Regions from separate parts of the Homo sapiens genome. Here region 2 is linked to region 1. The links are contacts of gene promoters, found by promoter capture Hi-C in blood cells and fetal thymus (Javierre and others, 2016). All regions are on one chromosome and are shown on one strand. Each heading gives the region's core, a stretch centred on a gene start or on the middle of the fragment in contact. The rest is flanking DNA. Distances are from core to core; before and after follow the strand shown. Region 1 holds the start of TMCO2 (transmembrane and coiled-coil domains 2). Region 2 overlaps ZFP69 (ZFP69 zinc finger protein).

What was found. Contacts are between HindIII fragments. The CHiCAGO score rates a contact against its expected background, and 5 or more counts as called.
Region 2: a fragment that was not itself captured here is called in contact with the fragment with the promoter of TMCO2 in region 1 in 1 of 17 cell types (naive B cells); the score reaches 5.1 in naive B cells.

The regions. Positions count from the first base shown.
Region 1 is chr1:40,246,442-40,252,555 of GRCh38, forward strand. TMCO2 (transmembrane and coiled-coil domains 2) reads left to right here and starts at 1,496. Exons shown (of 2, transcript NM_001008740.4): 1 at 1,496-1,789; 2 at 4,842-5,243. The coding sequence starts at 1,553. The coding sequence ends at 5,153. The HindIII fragment of the contact is 2,069 bases long and covers 1-1,511 here.
Region 2 is chr1:40,486,800-40,493,789 of GRCh38, forward strand. It overlaps ZFP69 (ZFP69 zinc finger protein), which reads left to right. Exons shown (of 6, transcript NM_001320179.2): 4 at 2,289-2,415; 5 at 2,730-2,825. It overlaps EXO5-DT (EXO5 divergent transcript), which reads right to left. Exons shown (of 2, transcript NR_187365.1): 2 at 4,226-6,889. Among named protein-coding and RNA genes, the nearest start is that of ZFP69, 13 kb to the left of the region's middle. The HindIII fragment of the contact is 3,099 bases long and covers 694-3,792 here.

The sequences.
Region 1 (6,114 bases), core at 246-2,745:
ATGGAAGACTACTGAGTGGAAGTGACTGACAGATGAGTGGGTGGATGCCACTATTAAAGGTAAACTGAAGGCCGAGTGTGGTGGTTCACGCCTGTAATCCCAGCACTTTGGGAGGCCTAGGCGGGTGGATCACGAGGTCAGGAGTTCGAGACCAGCCTAACCAACATGGTAAAGCCCCGTCTCTACTAAAAATAAAAAAATTAGCCAGGCGTGGTGGCACATGCCTGTAATCCCAGCTACTCAGGAGGCTGAGCCAGGAGAATCGCTTGAACCCCAGAGGCAGAGGTTGCAGTGAGCCAAGATTGCGCCACTGCACTCCAGCCTGGGAGACAGGGCGAGACCAAAACCCCGCCTCAAAAAAAAAAAAAAAAAAAAAAAAAAAAAAAAAAAAAAGCCCTGTTTATATCCTACCTCCTTGCTGGGTGCAGTGGCTCATGCCTGTAATCTCTGCACTTTGGGAGGCCAGGGCAGGTGGATCACTTGAGGTCAGGCATTCTAGACCAGCCTGGCCAAAATGGTGAAACCCCATCTCTACTAAAAATACAAAAAATTAGCCAGGCGTGGTGGCGGGCGCCTGTAATCCCAGCTACTCAGGAGGCTGAGGCAGGAGAATCGCTTGAACCTAGGAGGCATAGGTTGCAGTGAGCTGAGATCGCACCACTGCACTCCAGCCTGGGCGACAGAGTGACACGCCAGCTCAAAAAAATAAAAATAAAAAATCCCATCTCCTCACATTTCCATTCAACCTCAATACAACTCAGTTTTTTTTATTATGTGAAAACAGCTGCAACAGCTGCTGTCCATTTGAATTGTTGGAAATGTAGATCTACACTAACCAAGAGAGAAGCCACTAGCCACAGGTGGCTATTTAACTTTTTTTTTTTTTTTTTTAGATGGAGTCTCGTTCTGTCACCAAGGCTGGAGCACAACATCAGCTCACTGCAACCTCTGCCTCCCAGGTTCAAGTGATTCTCCTGCTTCAGCCTCCCAAGTAGCTGGGACTACAGGTGTGCACCACCACGTCAGGCTAATTTTTGTATTTTTAGTAGAGACAAGATTTCACCATGTTGGCCAGGCTGGTCTCGAACTCCTGGGCTCAAGTGATCCACCTGCCTCAGCCTCCCAAAGTGCTGGGATTACAGGCGTGAGCCACCATGCCCAGCCAAATTTAGTTAAAATGTAAAATGCAATCTCTGCTGCACTATTCACATTTCAGGTAACTAGTGGTTACCATATTGGACATGGCAGATAAAGAACATTTTCATTATTGCAAAAAGTTGTACTGGACAGCACTATGCTAGAGCCAGAACTAGCCAAAGATCAGACAAAGCAATATGAATGAACTGAAAACCCAGGCCGGTGCCTGGTTGGTTTTGAGTAAGATTCATTGGTTGGGTGAGTGGGAAGCAAGCTGACCTTTGGAACAGTGACATCACAAAGCACAGCTCACAATGGCTCTGGAATACCTAGGCCTCCAGACTACTCCCCCTAACTCATATTTAGATTCCTGAAGCTTCTGCACATGTAGTTCCTAGAGCTGCTGCTTATTAAAATGTCAACATCTTCATCTTCTAGCTGGGACAACCTCTTAGAGTCTCTCTCTCTCAGCACAGTATGGAATTGGATACAAGCAAGTTTTTTGGGAGAGACTAGTGCACCTCAGCAAACAAGTTTGGGACTATTAGATAATCTTGCTCCAGCTGTGCAAATCATCTTGAGGATTTCTTTCTTGATTTTATTGGGAATAGGAATATATGCCTTATGGAAACGAAGTATTCAGTCAATTCAGGTTATACTCTTTTGTTACAAACATTTATATAGTTATAAATTGAAATTTGATTAGTTCTCTCCCATATTGCTGCCACCAGTTTTAAGATCATGCAGATGTGCAAAGGCGAACCTTTGTCTCTTAAGTTGGCAAAAACTAGGTTATCCTTGAAAATCTCCACCAATTAGGCTTTGGGCATAAAAATGCTTTTCTCACAATGGTCTTTGGCTTGTCTTCTGTAATAAAATAGACCAAACATGTTGGTAACCTGAAAAGACAGCCTTACCCTCAAAAATTTTTGATCACTTATTCATCTTTGAGTGCTACTATGTTTATACAATAGGCACCAAAGTAGCTAGGATCATGAGTATGGCCTTTCTTACTATGCCATTGTTCTGTAACTGATAAGGAGGCATATGTATTAAGTCATCACAATGTGTTCATTATTGTGTTTTGACAAGATAAGGCTCCATAAGTATATAGGAGCTCTTTGGGGAGTAGGAATTTAACTGGCTGGGATTGTGAGAGACAGGATTTTACATACTTCTGTGTAGTCACCAATAATAATAGTTGACATACAATATAGTTGAATGCTTTGAGAATCTCAAAAATTCCATGAAATGGATGGAGATTATTTTCACATGACAAGTGAAGAAACTGAGGTGCACTGAGGTTCAGTGGAAACTTAAGGTGACAGGCTTTTAAAACGGCTTTCTTAGAGTGACAAGTTTACTTGATAAATGCAGAGAGAAGTTGTTATTGGATCATTTTTTAGCATTCACTTATTTTCATATGTCACTATTGTTTAGTAATCATGGTCACGGGGCCTTTCTATTTTAAACCATCACAATCCTGCATAACAGTCAGGGAGAGATTATTTGCTCCATTTTGTAGATGAGAGAACTTGATTGCTACCCACCCAAGTTCACATAGTTTGTAAGAGCTGGCAAAATTGGAGTTTGAATCGAATTTTTAGGATTTGAAATTCAGTTCTTCTCCAAAATCTCATTTAATGCAAACCAACTGACCTAAATCTTGAACAGGAATGTGTGTGTGTGTGTGTGTGTGTGTGTGTGTGTGTGTGTGTGTGTGTACGCGCATGCGCATATATATGTGTATTGTGAGGATTAAAGAAGATATTGTATGTGTAAATCTTAGCACATATATTCAATAAGTGGTGCTACAGTGAAACCCCATCTCTACTTAAAATACAAAAATTAGCCGGGTGTGGTGGTGGCACGCGCCTGTAGTCCCAGCTACTCAGGAGGCTGAGGCAGAAGAATTGCTTGAACCCGGGAGGTGGAGGTTGCAGTGAGCCAAGATCGTGCCACTGCACTCCAGCCTGGGCGACAAAGACTGTGTCTCAAAAAAAAAAAAAGTGGTGCTAGTTGTTATAATAAGGAACAAGATGATTTTTTTTCTTATCCTAGCAAGAATCTGTCCTACTATACATATTCTTTTGTTATTTATTTATTTATTTTGAGATGAAGTCTTGCTCTTGTCCCCTAGTCTGGAGTGCAATGGTGCAATTTCGGCTCACTGCAACCTCTGCCTCCCAGGTTCAAGCAATTCTCCTGCCTCACCCTCCCGAGTAGCTGGGATTACAGGCGCATACCACCACACCCAGCTAATGTTTTGTATTTTAAGTAGAGACAGGGTTTCACCATGTTGGCCAGGCTGGTCTCGAACTCCTGACCTCAGGTGATCCGCCCACCTTGGCCTCCCAAAGTGCTGGGATTACAGGCATGAGCCACCGTGCCCAGCATATGCTTTATTTTTATTTTTTATTTTTTTTTTATGTTTTAGAGACAGTGTCTTGCTCTGTCGCCCAGGCTGGAGTGCAGTGGTGTCATCATAGCTCACTGCAGCCTCAAATTCCTGATCTCAGGTGATCCTCCTGCCTCAGCCTCCTGAGCAGTTGGAACCATAGGCATGCACCACCAGGCTTGGCTAATTTTAAAAATTTTTTTGTAGAGACAGGGTCTCGCTACGTTCACTATGTTGCTCAGGCTGGTCTTTAACTCCTGGCCTCATGCAATCCTCCCATCTCAGCCTCTCAAAGTGCTGGATGCAGTGGTCCACACCTATAATTTATTTTATATAAATAAAATATATATATATATACATTAATTTTTTTAAGAGACAGGGTCTGGCTATCTTGCCCAGGCTGAAGTGCAGTAGCCATTCACAGGTGCCATCATAGCACACTACTCCTGGGCTCAGGTGATCCTCCCACCTTACCCTCCCTAGTAGCTGGGACTATATGTGTGTGCCATTGTACCCAGATCTCTCCTAGTATATTTTAAAAACCTTTTCCATGACCAAGAAATCCAGTTTTTCAGACTACTATGTCCTAAAGTGTACTTGGAAGTGTGAATTTCTGGATTCCTGTCCTGGCTCTGCCACTTCCAATATATAACCTTGGACAATGACAGAGTTCAAACTAGAAGGTATATAGTTATCCAGTTGTGTTTTTTCTGCATAAATAGATCATGCAAAGGCAAAGTTACTTCCAGACATTCAGAAAATGGTTATCTATTATTACAATCTTGATTAAATGCAAATAATAATCCTGCCTGACCTGCCTACCTCTCCAGTTTGCAGTGAAAATCAAAAGATGAAATAGGTGTGAAAATATTTTGCTAAGGCCGGGCATGGTGGCTTACGCCTGTAATCCCAGCATTTTGGGAGGCCACGATGGGCGGATCACGAGGTCAGGAGATTGAGAACATCCTGGCTAACACGGTGAAACCTCGTCTCTATTAAAAATACAAAAAATTAGCCGGGCGTGGTGGTGGGCGCCTGTAGTCCCAACTACTCAGGAGGCTGAGGCAGGAGAATGGCGTGAACCTGGGAGGCGGAGCTTGTAGTAAGCTGAGATTGCGCCACAGCACTCCAGCCTGGGTGACAGAGTGAAACTCCATCTCAAAAAAAAAAAAAAAAAAAATTTGCTAAATGGGAGACTTGTTATTGGAATGAGGAATTATTGTTACTATTAGGTTTTTGTTTTGTTTTTCTCTTATAGATAGTAAACTGTAGCAACTAACACTCAACTTCTGTTGTTCCATTTTAGAAAACATTGTTGTTTGTAATCACACTCTACAAACTTTACAAGAAGGGCTCACATATTTTTGAGGCTTTGCTAGCCAACCCAGAAGGAAGTGGTCTCCGAATTCAAGACAATAATAATCTTTTCCTGTCCTTGGGTCTGCAAGAGAAAATTTTGAAAAAACTTAAGACAGTGGAAAACAAAATGAAGAACCTAGAAGGGATAATCGTTGCTCAAAAACCTGCCACGAAGAGGGATTGCTCCTCTGAGCCCTACTGCAGCTGCTCTGACTGCCAGAGTCCCTTGTCCACATCAGGGTTTACTTCCCCCATTTGAAATGTGATGGACTCCAATCTTTTCCAGGAAAGCACTGTTTCCCTCATGTGTGCAGTGGTGTATCAATAAAGATAGAGAACGCTATTGAAATTACCGTGCAAAGACTAGCTCTCTATTTAGTAGGGCTGAGCTTCTACTTGTATGGATGGTGGGGTATAGTGGGGTATAGTGGTAGTTAAAAATGTCTCTAGGATTGTGGTGTACACTCAGCAGGCTGGAGACCATAAGCTGCCATAGATGGGAGAGGATAGCTGGGCTGGAATCTAAGGCTGTAGGAAGAGAAGGGAGGGTGGTCAGGTACATGGCCTTGAGGTCCATGCTGACGAGGTTAGACTAAATATAATAAAAAGTAGGAAAGTGCTGTTTGAGGGCCCTGCAGTGGACTGTCCTTTAGAGGTAGGCTGACCCCTGTGCTGGTCTTTGGCCTAAAGGTATATATGCAGTCCAGGGGTCTCCTGCATTAATTACTCAAAAGTGGGCAAGGGTGGGAGTAGATACAGACTGACATAAAGGAGACTAATTTTATCCAACTTTTACTGATACCTACTCTATGCTAAGCATTGTGATAATCCCTAGGCATCTTTCCTGAGTGCTTCAGGAGCATTCAGTTTGGCTGGATGGACAAGTAATTTCAGATCAGGGAATTATAATACAGTGGGGTCATAACTTTTTTTTTTTTTTTTTTTTTTTTTGAGTCAGAGTCTCGCTTTGTAACCCAGGCTGGAATACAGTGGCAGGATCTCTTCTCACTGCAACCTCCGCCTCCTGGGTTCAAGTGATTCTACTGCCTCAGCCTCCCAAGTAGCTGGGATTACAGGTGTGCATCACCACGCCTTGCTAATTTTTGCATTGTTAGTAGAGACAGGGTTTCACCATGTTGGCCAGGCTGGTCTTGAACTCCTGGCCTCAAGTAATCCACCCACCCTGGCATAACCAAGTGCGGGGATTACAGGCATGAGCC
Region 2 (6,990 bases), core at 993-3,492, 240 kb after region 1:
TAATATTTATTGACCCATCTTAAGTTTCACTGATCTTATCTCATCATGGTCTAATCTACTTTAAGCCCATCCAATGAATTTTTAGATATTGTCTTTTTCACTTGTAGAATTTTCATTTACAGTTGATTTTTTTTTTTTTTTTTTAAGATGGAGTCTTGCTCTGTCACCAGGCTGGAGTGCAGTGGCGAGATCTCGGCTCACTGCAACCTCCGCCTCCCGGGTTCAAGTGATTCTTCTGCCTCAGCCTTCCGAGTAGCTGGGACTACAGGCATGCACCACCATGCCCAGCTAATTTTTGTATTTTTAGTAGAGACAGGGTTTCACCATGTTGGCCAGGATGGTCTTGATATCTTGACCTCATGATCCGCCCGCATCAGCCTCCCAAAGTGCTGGGATTACAGGCATGAGCCACTGCGCCCGGCCTACAGTTGATTCTTGAGCAGCGCAGGTTTGAACTGTGCAGGTCCACTTCTATATAGACTTTTTTCAATAAATATATTGAAACATTTTTTGGAGATTTGTGACAATTTGAAAAAACTTGCAGATGGACCATGTAGCCTAGGAGTATCAAAAAAATTAAGAAAAAGTTAGGTATGTTATGAATACATAAAATATATGTAGGTACTAGTCTATTTTATCATTTACTACCATAAGAGATACACGTATCTATTATAAAAAGTTAAAAATTTTCAAAGCTTATGTGCACAGACTATTCATGGTGCCATTCTCAGTTGAGAGAAATGTAAACAAATGTAAAGATGCAGTATTAAATCACTACTGCATAAAATAAACTATAGTACACCTAGTGTATTAGTATGATAATTTTATAGCTATCTCCTGTGGCTATTGTAGTGCGCTCAGGTGTTTCAAGTATTTACTTAAAATTCAGTGTGATGCTAAGCATCTCTGCATTAGCACTTCATCTCTCCGGTAAATTGCATATCACAGTAAAAAGTGATCTCTCAGGCCGGGCGCGGTGGCTCACGCCTGTAATCCCAGCACTTCAGGAGGCTGAGGTGGGCGAATCACCTGAGGCCAGGAGTTCGAGACCAGTCTGACCAACATGGTGAAACCCGGTCTCTACTAAAAATACAAAAATTAGCTGGGCGTGGTGGCGTGCGCCTGTAATACCAGCTACCTGGGAGGCTGAGGCAGGAGAATCACTTGAACCCGGGAGGTGGCAGTGAGCTGAGCTCGCACCACTGCACTCCAGCCTGGACAACAGGGTGAGACTCTGTCTCAAAAAAAAAAAAAAAAAAGTGATCTCTAAGCCGGGCACGGTGTCTCATGCCTGTAATGCGAACACTTTGAGGGGCCAAGGCAGGAGTGCATGTGTATATACATACATACATGTGTGTGTTTTGTATGTATACACACACACACACACACATAGTTTATTCATGTGTTTTGATTTGTTCTATTTCCAAACCCTTTCGTCTCTCTGGTGGTTAAGGTGAGGGGCTCCTCCTAGAGCTGTGGCTGAGCTCTGGCTATCATGCAGCTTTAATTTGATTGAGTATACTTCTGATTAGCCCATGCCACAATTGCTGAGGGCTTTTCTTTTTATCTTTTTGGCATTTGAGCTTAGGAAGGGATTAGACTACAGTTCCAGACAGTTTTGTTCATTTTTGCATTAAACTCCAGCAGGGCCTCAGAATTCAAGTTCAGTAAGAATGCACAGGTCTTTGTGACAATAAGTGCGTGAGGTGGTGGGGGAACCCCTATCCCACCCTGTTCCTCATCTCCACCTCTCTTGATTTCATTTCTTTCCACTCTCTCATCAACCAGCCTACCTCCAGCCATGCTGTTCACTTTCCTGTTCCTCAAGCCAAGGACACTGTCACCTTAGGTCCTTTGCACCTGCCCAGGATGCTCTTCTCTCAGATTTCCATGTGGTTCTTCCCTTTACTGAATTTATGTCTCCGGTCAAACATCACCCTTTTAGAGAGTCTTCCCCAACCACTTTACATAAAAGATCATCCTACCCTCACTGTGGTTCTCCCAATGTCTCTTATCCTGCTTAATTTTTTTCTAAGGTATGTATCACCATCTGTCTTTCTATATATTACATTATTTATAGTAATCTCCAGATTAGAGATCCAGACAGACTACAGTTCCAGACAGTTTTGTTGATCAGATTTGGAGATCAGAGGATCTCCAAACAGATCCAGAGAAGGCTCCTGATAAAAGTAAGTTTAGAATCTCTCAGAATTTAGAATACTGTCAGAACTCCTTGGAACTTAACAGAGGTGGTCTCCGGCTAAAAATGAATGTATTTGATGTTCTAGGAATTGTTGACTTTCAAGGACATATCTATTGACTTCACCCAGGAAGAGTGGGGGCAGCTGGCTCCTGCTCACCAGAATCTATACCGAGAGGTGATGCTGGAGAACTACAGCAACTTGGTGTCAGTGGGTAAGACTTGGCTATCCATGCATCCAGAAACCCACCCATTACAGGAGAGTCATTATTTTAAATTATTGATGTGTAGATTCCTTGAGGCTTGATTTGGGTTCTGTATTAAAGATGTCTTATTCCCTTTGAAAACCAAGTGAGGGCATATCCAATTTGACTTTCTTGGGGAACAACTTTACTACACATAGTTAGGATAGAAAGACCCACCCCTTTCCACTTGTGGAGACCCTGAATACCAGAAGACTCAAAATTCTGAGGATGGTTCTTAGACATCAGCATAAACATTCACACTGTTTTTTTTACTACATAAGCAGGATATCAACTTTCCAAACCTAGTGTGATATCCCAGTTAGAGAAAGGAGAAGAGCCATGGATGGCAGAGAAAGAAGGCCCAGGAGATCCCAGTTCAGGTGAGACCAAGTGTGTTAGTCTGTTTTTGTGTTGCTATAAAGGAATACCTGAAACTTCATAATTTATAAAGAAAAGAAGTTTAATTGGCTAATGATTCTGCAGGCTGTACAGGAAGCATGGCACTGGCATCTGCTCCTGGTGAGGGCCTCAGGAAACTTACAATCATGGTGAAAGGCATATCACATGGTGGGAGCTGGAGCATGAGAGTGAAGGAGGAGGTGCCAGGCTCTTTTTCTTTTTCTTTTTTTTTTTTTTTTTTTTTTGAGACAGAGTCTCGCACTGTCGCCAGGCTGGAGTGCAGTGGCGCAATCTTGGCTCACTGCAACCTCCGCCTCTGGAGTTCAAGCGATTCTCCTGCCTCAGCCTCCCGAGTAGCTGGGACTACAGTTATGCGCCACCACGCTCAGCTAATTTTTGTATTTTTAGTAGAGACAGGGTTTCACCATGTTGGCCAGGATGGTCTTGATCTCGACCTTGTGATCTGCCCACCTCGGCCTTCCAAGGTGCTGGGATTTCAGGTGTGAGCCACTGCGCCAGGCTGGTGCCAGGCTTTTTAAACAACCAGATCTCATGTGAACTCAGAGTGAGAACTCATTACCATGGGGAGGACACTCATTCATGAGTGATCCACCCCCATGACCCAACACTTCCCACCAGGCCCCACCTGCAACACTGGGGATCACATTTCAACATGAGATTTGGAGGGGATAAATATTCAAACCAAATCACCAAGGCAGATGGAATTTTAATATGTAGGTCAGAGTGCTCAAAGCCTCGGCTGTGGGGAGGGCTCAGACCACTGGACAGAGCCTCCACTAAACTAATATCACCCGTCCCTTCCTTACCCCTTTCCTTCACTGAGCCCTTGCAAAAGTCCCCTGGAGTTGGAGGAAAGAGCAGTCTTGTCCTCATTAAGGTTGAGCTGGATTTTCCCTTTCTCCAGTATCCTAAGGGCTGCCAATCTAAAGCTTTCTCTAAGCAGTCAAATGTATGTGGTATTTTCACAGAAAACCAATCTCTTTCCAAGACTCCCATTGCATTCTACAAATCTTTAATTTTCCTGCACTCCATTTTTACTTCTTGCCAATGTTCATTTTACAATTCCAGCTTCGATTCTCATTCTCTTTTTAACTTATGTATCTTTTTTGTAACAGCTACTTATGAAAACTCCTGTAAGAGAAATTACCAAAGGATTCCTTCTCAACCAAATGTCGGGGTCCCTAACAATCTCCTCAAACTTTGCTTTTTATTCTGAAATATTTTAGACACTCAGAAAGGCATAGAAAACATTATAACACATTTCTGTGTAGCTTCCACCTAGACTAAGAAATGAAACACAGTTGAAGCTCCACTGTCCCCCTTACACCTTTTGAAATAAGCACTCTGCATTGAAATATTATTCCCATGTCTTCGTGCTTTTATTACATGTATAATGTAGTAAAAGCAGTCTATATATCAGTGTATACATACTAAACAATATATAGCATTGTTTTGCATGTTCTCTTTCTTTAAATAAATGGTATATATACTTCTTCCTTTTGCTTTTCTCATTCAACACTGGTGATATTCCTCAGTATGTTATTCTAGTTCATTCAATCCATTGAGTTAATAAACCACAATGTTCTTATTCATTTTCCTGTTGATAGACATTTACATTGTTTCCAAATTTGGGAGTTACAAAGATGCTACAGCAAACCTTTGTGTACATAACTTCTTGTATACATAATGCAAGTGTTTCTCTAAGATAGCTGGTAGAAGCAAAATTGTTGGGTTGTAGAATATATGCACTTTCATTTTGCTAGGTATTACCAATTTGCTCTTCAAAGCAGTTACACCAGGTTATTCTCCCATTAACAGGGTTTGAGAGTTTCCATAACTCAGCATCTTTGTCAACATTTGTTATTGTCAAACTTTAAGATTTTTGTAAATTCACTGGGTTATGGTATCTTGTTTCTTTCATTTTCCTGATTACCAGTGAAAGGAAGTATATTTCTCATGTTCATTGACCATCCATCCATCTCTTCTTCTGTCCTTACTCTAATGCCAGGCTCTTCTGTTAATTACCTGTTTATATCCCTTGCCAATGTTTCTATAATCTTTTTTTCTTATTGATTGGTAGAAAAAAATGTGTGTGTGTATGTGTGTGTGTGTGTGTGTGTGTATATATATATATATTCATTCTAGTATAATTATACATATATTCATTCTAGATAATAATCCTTGATAGCTTTATGTTTTGCAAATGTTTACTCTAGGTCAGTGGCCCATCTTTGACTTTTCAAAATTAGTGTCTTTTGTTAGACGTGAGTTTCTAAATTTAATGTTACTGAATTTATCAGGATTTTCTTTATTGTTTGTGCTTTTTAAGAAACCCTTTTATGCCTTATTATTCTTTTTTGTAAACTTTTTAAATTGTTTTTAGAGACTGGGTCTTGCTATGTTGCCCAAGCTGGCCTCGAATTCCTGGGCTCAAGTGATTCTTCTGCCTCAGCTACCTCACCTACTAAAGAGGCTGAGGCAGGACTACAGGTGCATGCTGCTGTGCCCTGCTATCCTCCATTTTATCATATATGTGGATCATACATATATGTTTTTACATATTCCTGTATTTTCAAAGTTTTGCTTTCCACATTTAGGTTTAATTCATCTGGAATTTATTTTATATAAATAAATTTGTATGTATGAGGTGGAAATCTGATTAACTTTTTCCACATGGATAATCAGTCCAGGAATAGTTAATGCTGCTCTGTCACCTGTCAAGTTTCTTTATATGTTTGGGTCTGTTTCTGTTTTGTATATTCTTTTTCTGTCGTGTTTCTCTCTTTATGTTGTTTTATTCTTTTGTTTTTCTGTCCTTACTCTAATGCCAGGCTGTCTTAAAAACTGTATCTCATAATGAGACTTAATATGTGGTAGAGGTAGTTCACCCACCTTGTTCTTTAAAGTTGTTCTGGTTATTCTTGGATCCTTGTTGTTCTATTTGAATTATATAATCAGAGCATCAAATCACACCCACAAATACTCTGCTGGCATTTTGATTGGAATAGAATTGAATTTCTAGATCAATTTTGGGGGAGTTAACATTGTTATGCTATTGAATCCTTCCAGGAATATGATATAGCACTCCATTTATTGATATTTCCTAATTTTTTTCAGTAACATTTCAGGATTTTCTCCTGTACATATTGTACATTTTTTGTTAGATTGATTCTGAAAATCTTATATTTTGTTGCTACTGTAGATGGTATTTTTTTTCCTTTTCTTTTCCCTGAGCCTCAGTCGTGAACAGGTATATTTTTAAAGAAAGATTATGTTGCTGGCCAGGTGCGGTGGCTCATGCCTATAATCCCAGCATTTTGGGATGCTGAGGCGGGCAGATCACCTGAGGTCAGGAGTTCGAGACCAGCCTGACCAACATGGTGAAACTCCATCTGTACTAAAAATACAAAATTAGCCAGGTGTGGCGGTGCATGCCTGTAATCCCAGCTACTCGGGAGGCTGAGGCAGGAGAATCGCTTGAACCCGGGAGGTGGAGGTTGCAGTGAGCCAAGATCACGCCGTTGCACTCCAGCCTGGGCAACAAGAGTGAAACTCTGTCTCAAAAAAAAAAAAAAAAAATTATGTTGCTAGTAAGTAATAACAAAATTGATTTTGAATATTGACCTTTTATACAGCCACCTTGTTTTACTCTTATTAATTCCAATCACTCTTTGTATATTTTCCTGGGTTTTCTCTTCCTCAACTTACAATAATGAAAATAATAATAAAAGCTACCATGAATGTTCTTTCCCAGCCTCTGGATGAAATCTCAAAGAGTTCCATTGATGATCCCGTTCCTTTAAATAACAAGAACAGTCTTGACTTTAGTAAAATGCCTATTTAGTTCAGTGCAATAATAAAAACTCCCAACTTCATTCAAAACTAAACCCTCTCTTCTTCCCCACTAGCTTGACACTCCCTCATGCTCGGATACTGAATTAGGGAGGGATGCATAAATGGCTTCTTTTCTTTTCCCCCATCATCTTCTTTTCCTCCTCCGCTATTCAAGACCAGAATCAGGGACCTGCAGAGCATAGATATTATTAGACATTATTATTGCCTGTTGTCATTTAGAATTTGACATTTTGAATTGCTAATGATCCATCTGTGTTGGCTAAAAAAAAT